Linked DNA regions of Homo sapiens: region 1 is linked to region 2. The links are contacts of gene promoters, found by promoter capture Hi-C in blood cells and fetal thymus (Javierre and others, 2016). All regions are on one chromosome and are shown on one strand. The core of a region is centred on a gene start or on the middle of the fragment in contact, and the rest is flanking DNA. Distances in the headings are between cores, read along the strand shown. Region 1 has its middle 72 kb from the start of CPAP. Region 2 holds the start of RNF17 (ring finger protein 17).

Evidence for each region. Contacts are between HindIII fragments. The CHiCAGO score rates a contact against its expected background, and 5 or more counts as called.
Region 1: a contact is called between a fragment that was not itself captured here and the fragment with the promoter of RNF17 in region 2, in 1 of 17 cell types (megakaryocytes). The highest score is 5.0, in megakaryocytes.

The regions. Positions count from the first base shown.
Region 1 is chr13:24,991,966-24,997,779 of GRCh38, reverse strand. No RefSeq gene overlaps it. Among named protein-coding and RNA genes, the nearest start is that of CPAP, 72 kb to the right of the region's middle. The HindIII fragment of the contact is 1,652 bases long and covers 1,796-3,447 here.
Region 2 is chr13:24,762,322-24,768,561 of GRCh38, reverse strand. It overlaps RNF17 (ring finger protein 17), which reads right to left and starts at 4,393. Exons shown (of 36, transcript NM_031277.3): 1 at 4,229-4,393; 2 at 1,196-1,290. The coding sequence starts at 4,358. The HindIII fragment of the contact is 5,895 bases long and covers 1-5,642 here.

The DNA of each region.
Region 1 (5,814 bases), core at 1,372-3,871, 230 kb before region 2:
GCGTGTCCATGTTTGGCTCTGCTCGCAGCACCATTTGGAGTTTGATTGCTTCTAGGCGAAAAGAGATACATTTTACAAGAAGATTTAAAATATAGGGTTAGAATATGAGCATTAAGATTACCACCGTTAGTGGGGGTCCTATAGACCTTAACTGACAATAGAGTTTGGTACCTGTTAGTTACACCAATGGATTGCAATACCGATTTGTCTGCACTAGATGTCGCTGTACATTACCAGAAACGTTAATATAAAAGTAACATTTTCCTTGAAAAATACATCCATTTCCCTCTTGACTTGCCATTAGAGAAGAACTTGCCTTAGGCCATTTTTATAACTTTCAATATGATTGGGAGAAATACATTGGGTGGCTAAAATAACTTTAGCATTAATCTTGACAATTCCTTTTCTTTATTAAATTTTTTCATGACTTTCACAGACCCTCTTACAACATACTTAAACTTTATGACTTGTCTTAAACATCCTTCATTTAAACAACCAGCCATTTCCTTCAAGGACAAGTATTTACAAAACAAAATCCTTTCTTATATAAAATTTCTTTCTTTATAACCTTTTTAAAATAACTTACAGTGCATTATATTACCAACCTTTAGTAAAAAGTCCTATTAAACTTAATGATAGCAAAACTTTTATGCTTACTTCTTATCTGTAACTATTACTCCTGCTGTAATCAAAACAACCTTGACTAAATTTCTCCTGCAATTATTAATCCTGTTATAAGGATGATAATCAGCCAAAATATTACAGCAATTAGAATTTTACAACCAGAATTCCACACTGTATAGTCCAATTGCAAATAGTGGCATGACTCTAACAATTTCCACAAGAGTGGGGTAGTAAATAATTTTCGTTTAAAACTTTACTTGCCAAGATATAACATTTCCCTTCGAGGATTTACAAGGTTACAAATGGAATCCCATGTATAATCAAAATTTCCCTGCAAATATGCATTAAAAAGAAGTTCTAATATTTGGGGGCAAATTTTGAGAGGAAAGGGCAGAAATGACAAAAAGCATCTGTTGATGTAAAGGTTGGGCTAAGATGAGGAGCCCTCACTCAGTTACTTACCTTTTATGATTTTTAGTGTAATATCTTCTATTTCTTCCTCTGGGCTGTCAGGGGTTGCTCCCTTGGCTCTTCAGGCTTTGGCTTGAGTGTGATGTATCCAGGAGTTGATTCTTGTAACTTTTACTGCCCAGAGGGTTGAAAGAAGAACAGTGTAGGGCCCTTCCCAGCTTGGCTTAGGGAAGGAAAGAGATGAGAGTTTTCACTAATGCCTAAATTCCTGGATTATATAAAGGTGGTTTTATTTCCTGGAGTTGGGCTTCTCCTAGCTGTGTTAATTCCTGTTGGAAATGAGCTAGAGAGGTTACATTCTTTTTTTTTTTTTTTTTTTTTTTTGAGATGGAGTCTTGCTCTGTCGCCCAGGCTGGAGTGCAGTGGCGCCATCTCGGCTCACTGCAAGCTCCGCCTCCCGGGTTCACGCCATTCTCCTGCCTCAGCCTCCTGAGTAGCTGGGACTGCAGGCGCCCGCCACCATGCCCGGCTAATTTTTTGTATTTTTTAGTAGAGACGGGGTTTCACCGTGTCAGCCAGGATGGTCTCGAGTTCCTGACCTCCTGATCCGCCCACCTCGGCCTCCCAAAGTGCTGGGATTACAGGCGTGAGCCACCGCGCCCGGCCGAGAGGTTACATTCTTAACCAATTTAGAGGTTCTCTGCCTGAAAACAATCTCTGAGCACATTGATAAGTTGTATCCTTTCCCAAGTGAAAAGCTTGGCGAAGGATTTTAAGGACTTTCATTGGCTGGAGGCTGGCAAATAGAGTTTGCCATCCTGACTGTAGGCATCTGAGGGCTGAAAAGTATGCGCTTGAGAAGTGCCCTATTCTATTTCTGCAGCAGAATACTGAGGTTTAATTTCTTTTATGGAGCCCTCCTAGACTAGAAAGGCTTGAAGTGTATTAGTGCCTTGAGGCTTCCTTGCCTTTGACTTAGCTGCCTGATCAGCTAATCTATTTCCTTCAGCTACCTCATCCGTTCCCTTTTGATGTTCCCTACAATACTTACCTGCTATCTCTCATGGTAGAAAAACTGAGGTTAATAATCTGCTAATTTCCTGGTGATATTTTATAAAAAACTCCATTAGTGGTAAGAAAATGCCTTTCCTTTTAAATGGCAGCATGAGCATGGAAAATCAGGAAAGCATACTTGGAGTCAGTATAGATGTTATCTACGTTTCCCTTGCTTAATTTAAGTGCTCTTGTAAGAGCTATTAGCTCAGCTAACTGAGCGCTCGTGTTTGGGGAGAGTGACTATGTACTTCTTTGCTTTACCGGCCGTTTGCTAGCTAAGAGCTCCCCCTAGAGGACAGTGATCTTGCCATATTATGTGGGATGTAAACAGTTATTTCCTAGGCTTAACTTGAAGGCTTTTCTGACTAGTAGAGCTATCATGATAATGGCTTGGAAGCATGTGTAAATAGGTCCTCCTAACTACAACTAAGGTTGAGAAAAATATTGGATTAGAGTTTTTCCTGAGATGCTACTTATGGTCATGCTATAGGAAGAGGGGAGGCCTAGATGAGAGAGGAGAAGAGAGAGAGAGACTGGCTCAAATGTTTAGAAGGAGGTCTACTTTAATTTTCTTCCTCCCTTCCTTTGTGCTGTTAACATATATTTTTACTTCCACATATTATAAACTTCACAAATTTTTGTTAGTTTTGCTTTAAATAGAAATAAGATATTTATTCAAATGAGAAAATAAAATGATTTTATATTTGTACCAGAATTACTATTTCTGGAGTTCTTTATTCCTTTGTGTAGGTCAGACTATCCATCTCTTATACTCCTTCTGCCTCAACAATTTCCTTTACTATTTCTTTTGGTTCAAGTTTGTTAATGATAAAATCTCTATTTTCTCTGAAAATAACCTTCTCTTTCCCCTTCATTTTGGAGGACAGTTTTACTAGCTACAGAATTTAGAATTTCTTTCAGCAAATTGCCTTTGGCTTTTCTGAGAAGTCATGGTCATCCTCTATTTGGTTTCCCTTTGATAACTTTATAACATGTTTTTCACCTTTGGCTGATTTTAATTTTTTTTGTTTTATTCTTGAAATTCAGTAAATTGATTATGATGTATTTTGGGTGTGTGTGTGTTTAGCCTGCTTTGGGTTGGTTGTGCTTCTTGAATCTTGATGTTTGGAAAATGTTCTGCCTTTATTCAACCACTTTTTCTGTTCCTTTCTCTATTCGCAATTCCAAAGCAACTTATAATGCATGTAAGACTGCTTGATATTGCCTCATAGGTAACTGAGGCTCTCTTTATTTTTTTGTTCAGCCTTTTCTTTGTGCTTTAGTTTGGATAGTTTCCATTGCTATGTCTTCAAGTTTTTATTTTTTATTCTGCAGTGTGTAATCTACTGCTAAGCTTATTCAGTGAAGTTTTCATTTTATATATTGTATGATTCAGCTCTACAAGTTTTGTTTCTTTTATTATGGTTTCCATTTCTCTCCCTATCATATTATCTTTAATACCTTAAACATATTTACAATTGCTGTTTTAAAGTTCTTGCATGCTAATTCCATCAATCCCTGTCATTTCTGGGTCTGCTTCCACTGACTTACTTTTATCCTGATTATGGATCATAGTTTCCTGCTTTGAACAGCATTTTTGACTGGATGTTGGACATTGTGATTATTACATTCTTAAGTGTCTGGATTTTATTTTCTTCCATTAAATTTTTTGGTTTTTTTTGAAGGCAGTTAAATTAGTTATGGAGCCCTTTGATGCTTTAGAGGCTTGTTTTTTCTTTAACATTTAAGATAAACTTTGTTAAAATAATATTAAAAGTCTGGAATAGTTCTTGCTTTAGTGCTAGTTTTGTCCTGCTTTCAAGGTATGGCCCTTGCGGGGTCTCTGCGGAATATCTCAAGTATTCATCAAGGTCTTTCCACTCTGATTGGCTATGGATGGCACAGGCTTGGTGGAAGAGAAAACCTGGAGTTTGATTTTGGACATGTGAAGTCTAAAATATCTATTAGATAACAAAATGGGGTTACTGAATGGGTAGTTAGAAGTTTGAATTTGGGATTTGAGAAGGAAGTGTGGGTGGGCTGCACATATACATTTGGGGGTTATCAACATAGAGTTGATATTTAAAACCATGAGACTAGATGAGATTATCAGTGGAGTATAGACAGAGAAAAGAAAAAAAATTTGAACAGATCCGTGGGACATTCAAATATTAAGAGATTGGGGAGAAAAGGAGGAAGTCAGCCAAAATAAAAAAAGAGTGACCTATGAGGTAGCAGGAAACTCAGAGTGTGGTACCCTGGAAACCAGGTAAAGAAATGTCCCAAGGGGAGGAAGCCACCTACAATGCCACCTGCTGCTGGTAGATCAACTGGGATGAGGAACAAGAAGGGACCAGTAGATTTTAGCAACATGAAGGTCGTGGGTGACCAACGTCAATTGAATGGTGAGAGTGAAAGCCTGAATGTAGTGGATTTAAGAGAGGATGGGAGAAGAGGAACTGGAGGCAGTGGGCACAGATGCTTTTATCAAGAACTCCTACTGCAAGGGAATGTAATGACATTAAGTGAAATCTGTGGTCAAGGGAAAGTTCCGCTTTTTAGGACAGCCTGTTGTGTGTGCTGGTGTGAATGATCCTGCAGAGAGTGGAAAATGGATGATGTAGGGAATAGGAGAGAATTGCTGGAGTGGTGTTCTTGAGTAAGCAAGAGTGGGTGTATTCGATGGTGCAAATAAGATGGGCTTTAGACAGGTGTGAACAGTAAAGCTGTGGGAAGGCAGAGCGTGTGGGTGCGTATTGCTGGAAGGAGAGGTGTGGTGAGAGCACAGAAGAGGTCATTTCTTGTTCCAGTTTCTCAGGGAAGTAGAAATCAAGGTCACAGTTGGGAATGAGGATGGGAGAGATGTAACCTAAATCCCTAAGATTCATGCTCTGCCTGATGTGTTCTTGTCCTGGTTCATTTTTCACCTTCTGTTACCGTGCAGCTGTTTCTTCCTAAATGTCTCTAGGGATTTGGGAAAAGTGAAGTAGTGGGTGTAGGGCAGGCTGCAGGAGCAGTGTGCGTATGTGTTTGTGTTTGTGTGCAAGAGAGACATAGTGATCCATCCAAAGAGGCCTAAATCTCAGTAATACCAAAAAAACAACAATAAGATAACTTAGAATGTTAAAATTCTACAACTTTCAGTGAACACCTGTCACAAAAAAGAGCGGGAGCAAGGAAGTCTTATTTCCGACAAATACCAGGTGTTCTTTTATTGTTACTACCTTTTTGTTTGACTTTTCTCTTTCCCAGTACAGCATTCAGCATTCACATGGCCTAACTCAGCTCACATAGGGCTTCTGAGCCTTCTATTGAGGCACTTTTTAGATGTATTGCTTATTAAAGGAGGGGGAATAGGGAAAATGAAATAACCTTAAAGAGTTTTCATACCTAAATGGGTTATATTAACTCTATACCAAAAAAGTGTATGTAAATTTTCTTTTGGTAAAAATTATTTGGAGTCAAACACCACTTTTACCTTTAAAATGTTATATTGGGAATCTGCTAGAGGATGTTGAAACATCAGGATTTTACATTTAAGAATTTTATGATTTAGGAATGAGAGTTCAGGAATGACTTTCCAAATTGCACTTACTTTAGGCCAAGCACAGACATTTGTCAAATCTAATTGAGCTCTCCTTCTCTATGAGAACTACCTTACTTAAATAAAAAAGATAATAATTCAGGTAGTTTTCATTTTTTTATATTTGTGTAAGATATACA
Region 2 (6,240 bases), core at 3,144-5,643:
CTGTAATCCCAGCACTTTGGGAGGCCGAGGTGGGCGGATCACGAGGTGAGGAGATCGAGACCATCCTGGCTAATATGGTGAAACCCCCTCTCTATTAAAAATACAAAAAATTAGTCGGGCGTGGTGGCACAGACCTACAGTCCCAGCTACTTGGGAGGCTGAGGCAGGAAAATCACTTGGACCTGGGAGGCGGAGGTTGCAGTGAGCTGAGATTGAGTCACTGCACTCCAGCCTGGGGGACACAGTGAGACTCCGTCTCAAAAAAAAAAAAAAAGGAATTTACAGCTTGAGTCAACTTTCCAGGAACAATATTATATAAGCTGAACTACACTTATATTTGTATTAAATGAATAGGATATCAAGTAAATTTTATTTTACATCCTTAATTTGTTCTCATTCTTATGGAAAGATTTCAGTCTTAATGGCTTCTGAAGTAAAAATTTTAGGCAGTAGTTTTGCTTCTCTACCTTGTTGTAGAATGGCATCTCCCAAATGTACATTTGATGACACACAAAGGTTGAGGGGCAGGGGGGGAGTTCAAAATGTGGTTGCATGGATTGGTGGGTAAAACAGGGGCTAGGGTTTTTAAAGGAATATACACCATTAAAATAAACAAAAGACATAATTTTCCACAGAAGTCACCAAAGAATCAAAATATGTAGGCCGATAAGTGTATGACTTTAGCGCCTTTTATTTTTCCTGATCACTTTACACAATTATAAAATGGATAGAAAAAGTTTTATCTTTTGTTAGGTTTCTTTGCTTAAAGATTCAGCAGCAAAAATGCAAGATTTTAGGGTTTTTTTTTTTTTTTTGAGATGGAGTCTTGCTCTGTCGCCAGACTGGAGTGCAGTGGTGCAATCTTGGCTCACTGCAGCCTCCACCTCCCAGGTTCAAGCGATTCTCCTGCTTCAGGCTACCGAGCAGCTGGGACTACAGGTGTGCACCACTAGGTCCAGCAAATTTTTGTATTTTTAGTAGAGACGGGGTTTCCCCATGTTGGCCAAGGTGGTCTTGATCTCTTGATCTCGTGATCTGCCCGCCTCAGCCTCCAAAAGTGCTGGGATTACAGGCGTCAGCCACCACGCCCGGCCAACTTTTTAGTTTCTAACTAGAAGTACGTTTTACTACTGTAGTATTTTTACCATTAACATTAGGTTGTGATATGTTTCATCTGAAAAATTATAACACTTACCTCACAATCAGGGCATATAATTGTGGTGCATTCTTCAGTCATTAACAAGCATAGTTCACAAAAAGCATGTCCACATTGAAGTTCACAATGGTGACCTATTGATGAAATTCTTAATTATTATTTTGATGATGATGATGATTATTGAGACAGGGTCTTGCTCTGTTGCCCAAGCTGGAGTGTAGTGGCACCAGCTCACTGCAGCCTCCACCTCTTGGGCTCAAGTGATCCTCCTACCTCAGCCTCCCAAGTAGCTGGGACTATAGGTGTGTCCCAACACACCCGGCTAATTTTACTGAAGAAATTCTATTGTGATTAAACTGCCCACAGTGTGTTAATGTTGAATGGGCAATACTGATACAAGGGAAATTCAAAGAGGATCCTACTGTACAGGAAAAGATACCTACTACAGTTTGAAATGGTTGACTTATTGAATATAAATCAGGAGTAACCAACTATTCAGGTCAGGAGGGAGAAAAATCAAGAAGAAAAACCAAGAAGAGCTATGTAATAGCATTTGCATTAATTCAGATGGCTATTTTGTACCTAGAATACTTTGAATCTGCCATATCTTACACAAAGTGCTCTGACACATTTTATTTGTTATTTGTAAATATCACAGTTAAGTGGGCTGGAGATGAAATAGCATTTTGGAGATTTGGTTAACTAAATGGTATAATCCAGACTCCTATCTAGCTCTGTTTCCAAGTCTAACATTCTTTCTGATTGATCATACTGCCCTCTACTACTTTATATTTCCCATCCTGTGAAGAGGTCAGGAAGGGCCAAAATGAGACACTGGCAAGACCGTGCTGTTAGAATTATTTAAGACACTGGCAAGGCCAGAAGCCAGATGCTACTATTATCACATATCTACAACTCACATTTTCACAAACTTAGCATTTATGAAAGGAAATATCGTAACTTGATTGAAAACCTAACATCATGATTAAATGCTCTAAGAATTTGAAGTTTATAATAAATAACATTTGTTTTAGCTATATAATTTCAAAAGGTTGTCATTTTTAAAGTTTTGCAAGAAAACTGAAAAGGGAAAAAAACTAGATAAAAATCAGTCATCTTTTACTAGCAAAATAATTATAGAGTTCTTGCTGAATTATAATCGCATTAATTTTATTTATTTATTTATTCATCCATTCATTCACTCATTCTGAGACGGACCACGATCTCGGTTCACTGCCAACTCTGCCTCCTGAGTTCATGCTATTCTCCTGCCTCGGCCTCCGGAGTAGCTGAGATTACAGGTGTGCGTCAGCACGCCTAGCTAATTTTTTTGTATTTTTAGTAGAGATGGGATTTCACCATGTTGCCTAGGCTGGTCTTGATCTCCCGACCTCAAGTGATCCGCCCACCTCGGCCTCCCAAAGTGCTGGGACTATAGGCGTGAGCCACTGTGCCCGGCCTTGCATTAATTGTATTTTTTAAAAACTTTACAAGTTTCCTATCCAACTGAAATACCTGAAACTTGCTTACAACCATGCTAAATTTTAAAACCCTATTTAACTTCCAGGGATAATATTGCCAAAGAAATAAAAACACTTAACTATTATAAAATTTCTGATACTGAATAACTCAAAATAACTTGTGGTGAATTACAGCTTAAAAAGCACTTTCAGGATTCTATATACATAACCACTACTTCTCCAGTTTAGTTTTTCTAAGCATTATAATACTAATGTATGGAAGAAGTACTCATTTTAAAAGGTTGTGTTCTAGAACTTTATTCCGTAATTTTAATTTCATTCAAAAATGGAAATTTTCTACGTAACGGTAGCAGTGATCTAAACCCCAAGTAGGAGAAACTTGGTTCTCCACTGAAATCACAACTTTTTCTGCAGAGGCTCACATCTCACAGAGTCCATCTTGCCAAGACTGAGAAAACTGATCGAATGACCTTAACTTTGAAAGTATAAACATTAAACAGTTACGCCAGGTAATACGAATTTTCAGTAGCTCCAGGAATTGAGATTCAACAACTCAGCTGTATTAAGAGCACACTAAGGTATTTTAAGTTACATTAAAATAACTTGAACCGGCCGGGCGCGGTGGCTCACGCCTGTAATCCCAGCACTTTGGGAGGCCAAGACGGGCGGATCACGAGGTCAGGAGATCGAGACCATCCTGGCTAACACGGTGAAACCCTGTCTCTACTAAATATACAAAAAATTAGCCGGGCGTGGTGGCGGGCGCCTGTAGTCCCAGCTACTCCAGAGGCTGAGACAGGAGAATGGCGTGAACCTGGGAGGCGGAGCTTGCAGTGAGCCGAGATCGCGCCACTGCACTCCAGCCTGGGCTACAGAGCGAGACTCCAACTCAAAGAAAAAAATAATAATAAATAACTTGAACCTGTGATCACTTGAGTAGATTGTAGGTGAACAGACCAATAATAGTGCAGTGTATTTTTCCCCTCACGTATAAAGACCAACACACACACACACACACACACACACACACACACACCCCACAAGGTGCACAAAAGAAACTATCATTTTCCAAACAGTGTTTTAGGCCAGTGTGAGCCATAATGTAAAAAACAAACAAAAAAACCCCCACAGAAACAACAAAATGCTAACAACAACAACAAAATCCAAAACCATTTCACAATGGTCTACTTGTTACTCCTACAACAAAAACTACAGGAGAAAATCAAGTTTCGTTCCTTCTTGATGACAAAACAATGGGCTACATTTTATGTCTACTTTTGCATGCACCCGCTAACCTGCCTTGTGAGGAGTAGATTAAAGCCACCCGGGCCCCCATCCTCCCGGCTGGAGGGTCGGTGAGGCCTGGATGGGTAATTGGAGAAAGCCGTGACAGGCGCAGGTGCTGCCCTTAACCAACCCAAGCACTGCCCTCTTAGAGGTCGGGTGCAGCTCGCGGGAGGCCTGTGACGCAGTTTCTGGTGACACCAGGATTGGATGCAGCTGACCAAGCCTCACGCGCCCACCAGCTCACCTGGCCCCCAGCGCTCCCTCCAGGCTGCCTCCCCGCTAGGTGGGCCCTTGGGCTCCTCACCGGATGATCTGGATACCCTCCTTCCACACCTGGTGCACTGGATTTCAGCGGCACCCCAGGGCTGACTCTTCCTCCCCATTCGCTGGTAGGAAGACCTAGAAGGCCCAGTCTTCGAAGCCTCTGCCGCCATCGCTGTCTCTTTCTTCTGGAACAACCGCCGAGTGCGAGTCCCGGCGGCCCTCGCGGCAGCGACCAATCATTGGAGGCCAGCCCCTGCAGATAGCCAAACAGTGGGCCGGGAGATTAAAGCCCGCCCCCAAGCTCGCTCCTGATGGGGCTGGGGCTGTTTTCCGTTATCCTGGGAGGTACCACTCCTAGAAGGGGCGCCTTGTGGCCGTTGAGGACCGTTCGTTTTTACGTTCTACCCAAAGAGTCACCACTTTAGTGCTTTTAGTCATCACAAATTAAAATTTCGCATATTATTACTTACATTGTGAGTGACTTTATAGATAATCATTTGGATTGAAACAATCCCCTTTCCCTATTACGTGTCAGGGCCAGAAGCCCTAAACCTGTGTGCTTCGGGCATCCAGGGCTTGGCCAATAGCAGCTGGAGTGGAGAAGCTAATGAGAAGCTATCGTTGGGGTAGATTCAGTGAACGCTTTCGAATTAAGGAGTGTTCATCATTACTAACTGCTGTTGAGCCTAATAATATACAAGGCAGCGTGCCAAGAGTGGTTGGGGATGCTAAGAATTTATGAACTAGCAGGTTTCTGCTTGAGAGATACATAACTCCTTAAAAAAACCCAGTAACTTCCGCCAAAATAAGTGTTATGTACCGGACCTGTGTTAGAGACAGTAAGAATTAGCCTTCTGGGCCCGGCGCGGTGGCTCACGCCTGTAATGCCAGCACTTTGGGAGGCCAGGGCGGGCAGATCACGAGGTCAGGAGATCGAGACCATCCTGGCTAACATGGTGAAACCCTGTCTCTACTAAAAATACAAAAAAAAAAAAAAAAAAAAATTAGCCGGACGTGGCGGTGGGCGCCTGTAGTTCCAGCTACTTGGGAGGCTGAGGCAGGAGAATGGCGTGAACCTGGGAGGCGGAGCTTGCAGTGAGCCGAGATCATACCACTGCACTCCAGTCTGGGCGACAGAGCGAGACTGCGTCTCAAAAAAAAAAAAAAAAGAGTTGAAGCAACTTGTCCAAGCATAGTTCACAAAAAGCAATGAAGAAATGAAGTCAATATGGTCTACGGTGGTATGAAAACTCTTCGTAGAGGATATAGGGTTTGCACTAGACCTTACAACCTAGGTAGTACTTACAGGAGTAAACAAGAACTAAGGGATTCCAAGAATAAAGAACACATCAGCGAGGGAAGGTAGATGTGAGGGAAGGTAGATGGAAGACACAGTGACTTCTTGAGAATTTAAAGACCATTTAGCCAGAGTATGAGTTTCCTTAAAGTAAGCTTCTTTGGAGAGGTGTGTCAGGGAAGAATTTCGGAGAATCTCGAGTGTAAGGCTGAGGAGTTTGGACTTTACTCTTTAAGCAGTAGAGTGCATGAGACGTTTTGTGAGCAAGGAATGAAGTAATCTAGTAGAAAGGTGGCAGGTGTATTTCAAACAAAACACCTGGAGGTGGCACGGTTGCCTTTTGCTGCTAAGAATAAAGCCTGCCCATATTCCTCATTTTCTTTTCTCTCTACACTGTGTGTGGGTAACTAGAAACTGTGAAGTAAGTATTCTCTTGAAAGGCTCACTTCGGCTCAAAAATCTTTGTAATTTGTTGTCTTCGAGAGAAAAGTACTGCTTCCCTAAATTACCCTCATTCTACTACTCATCCAATAGTTTCCACTACTAATCCATGATGGAACTGAGTACTAATCAAGCCAATATTCTCATGTAACATGTTGACTCTTCTACAGTTTTGTGAGTATTATTCCCTATTCCCCTCATCTGGAATACCTACTGTTCACTCTTCATCAATTCATATTCTCTTTTTTTTTTTTTTTTTTTTTTTTAGAAATGGAGTCTTGCTCTGTCGCCCAGGCTGGAGTGCAATGGCGAGA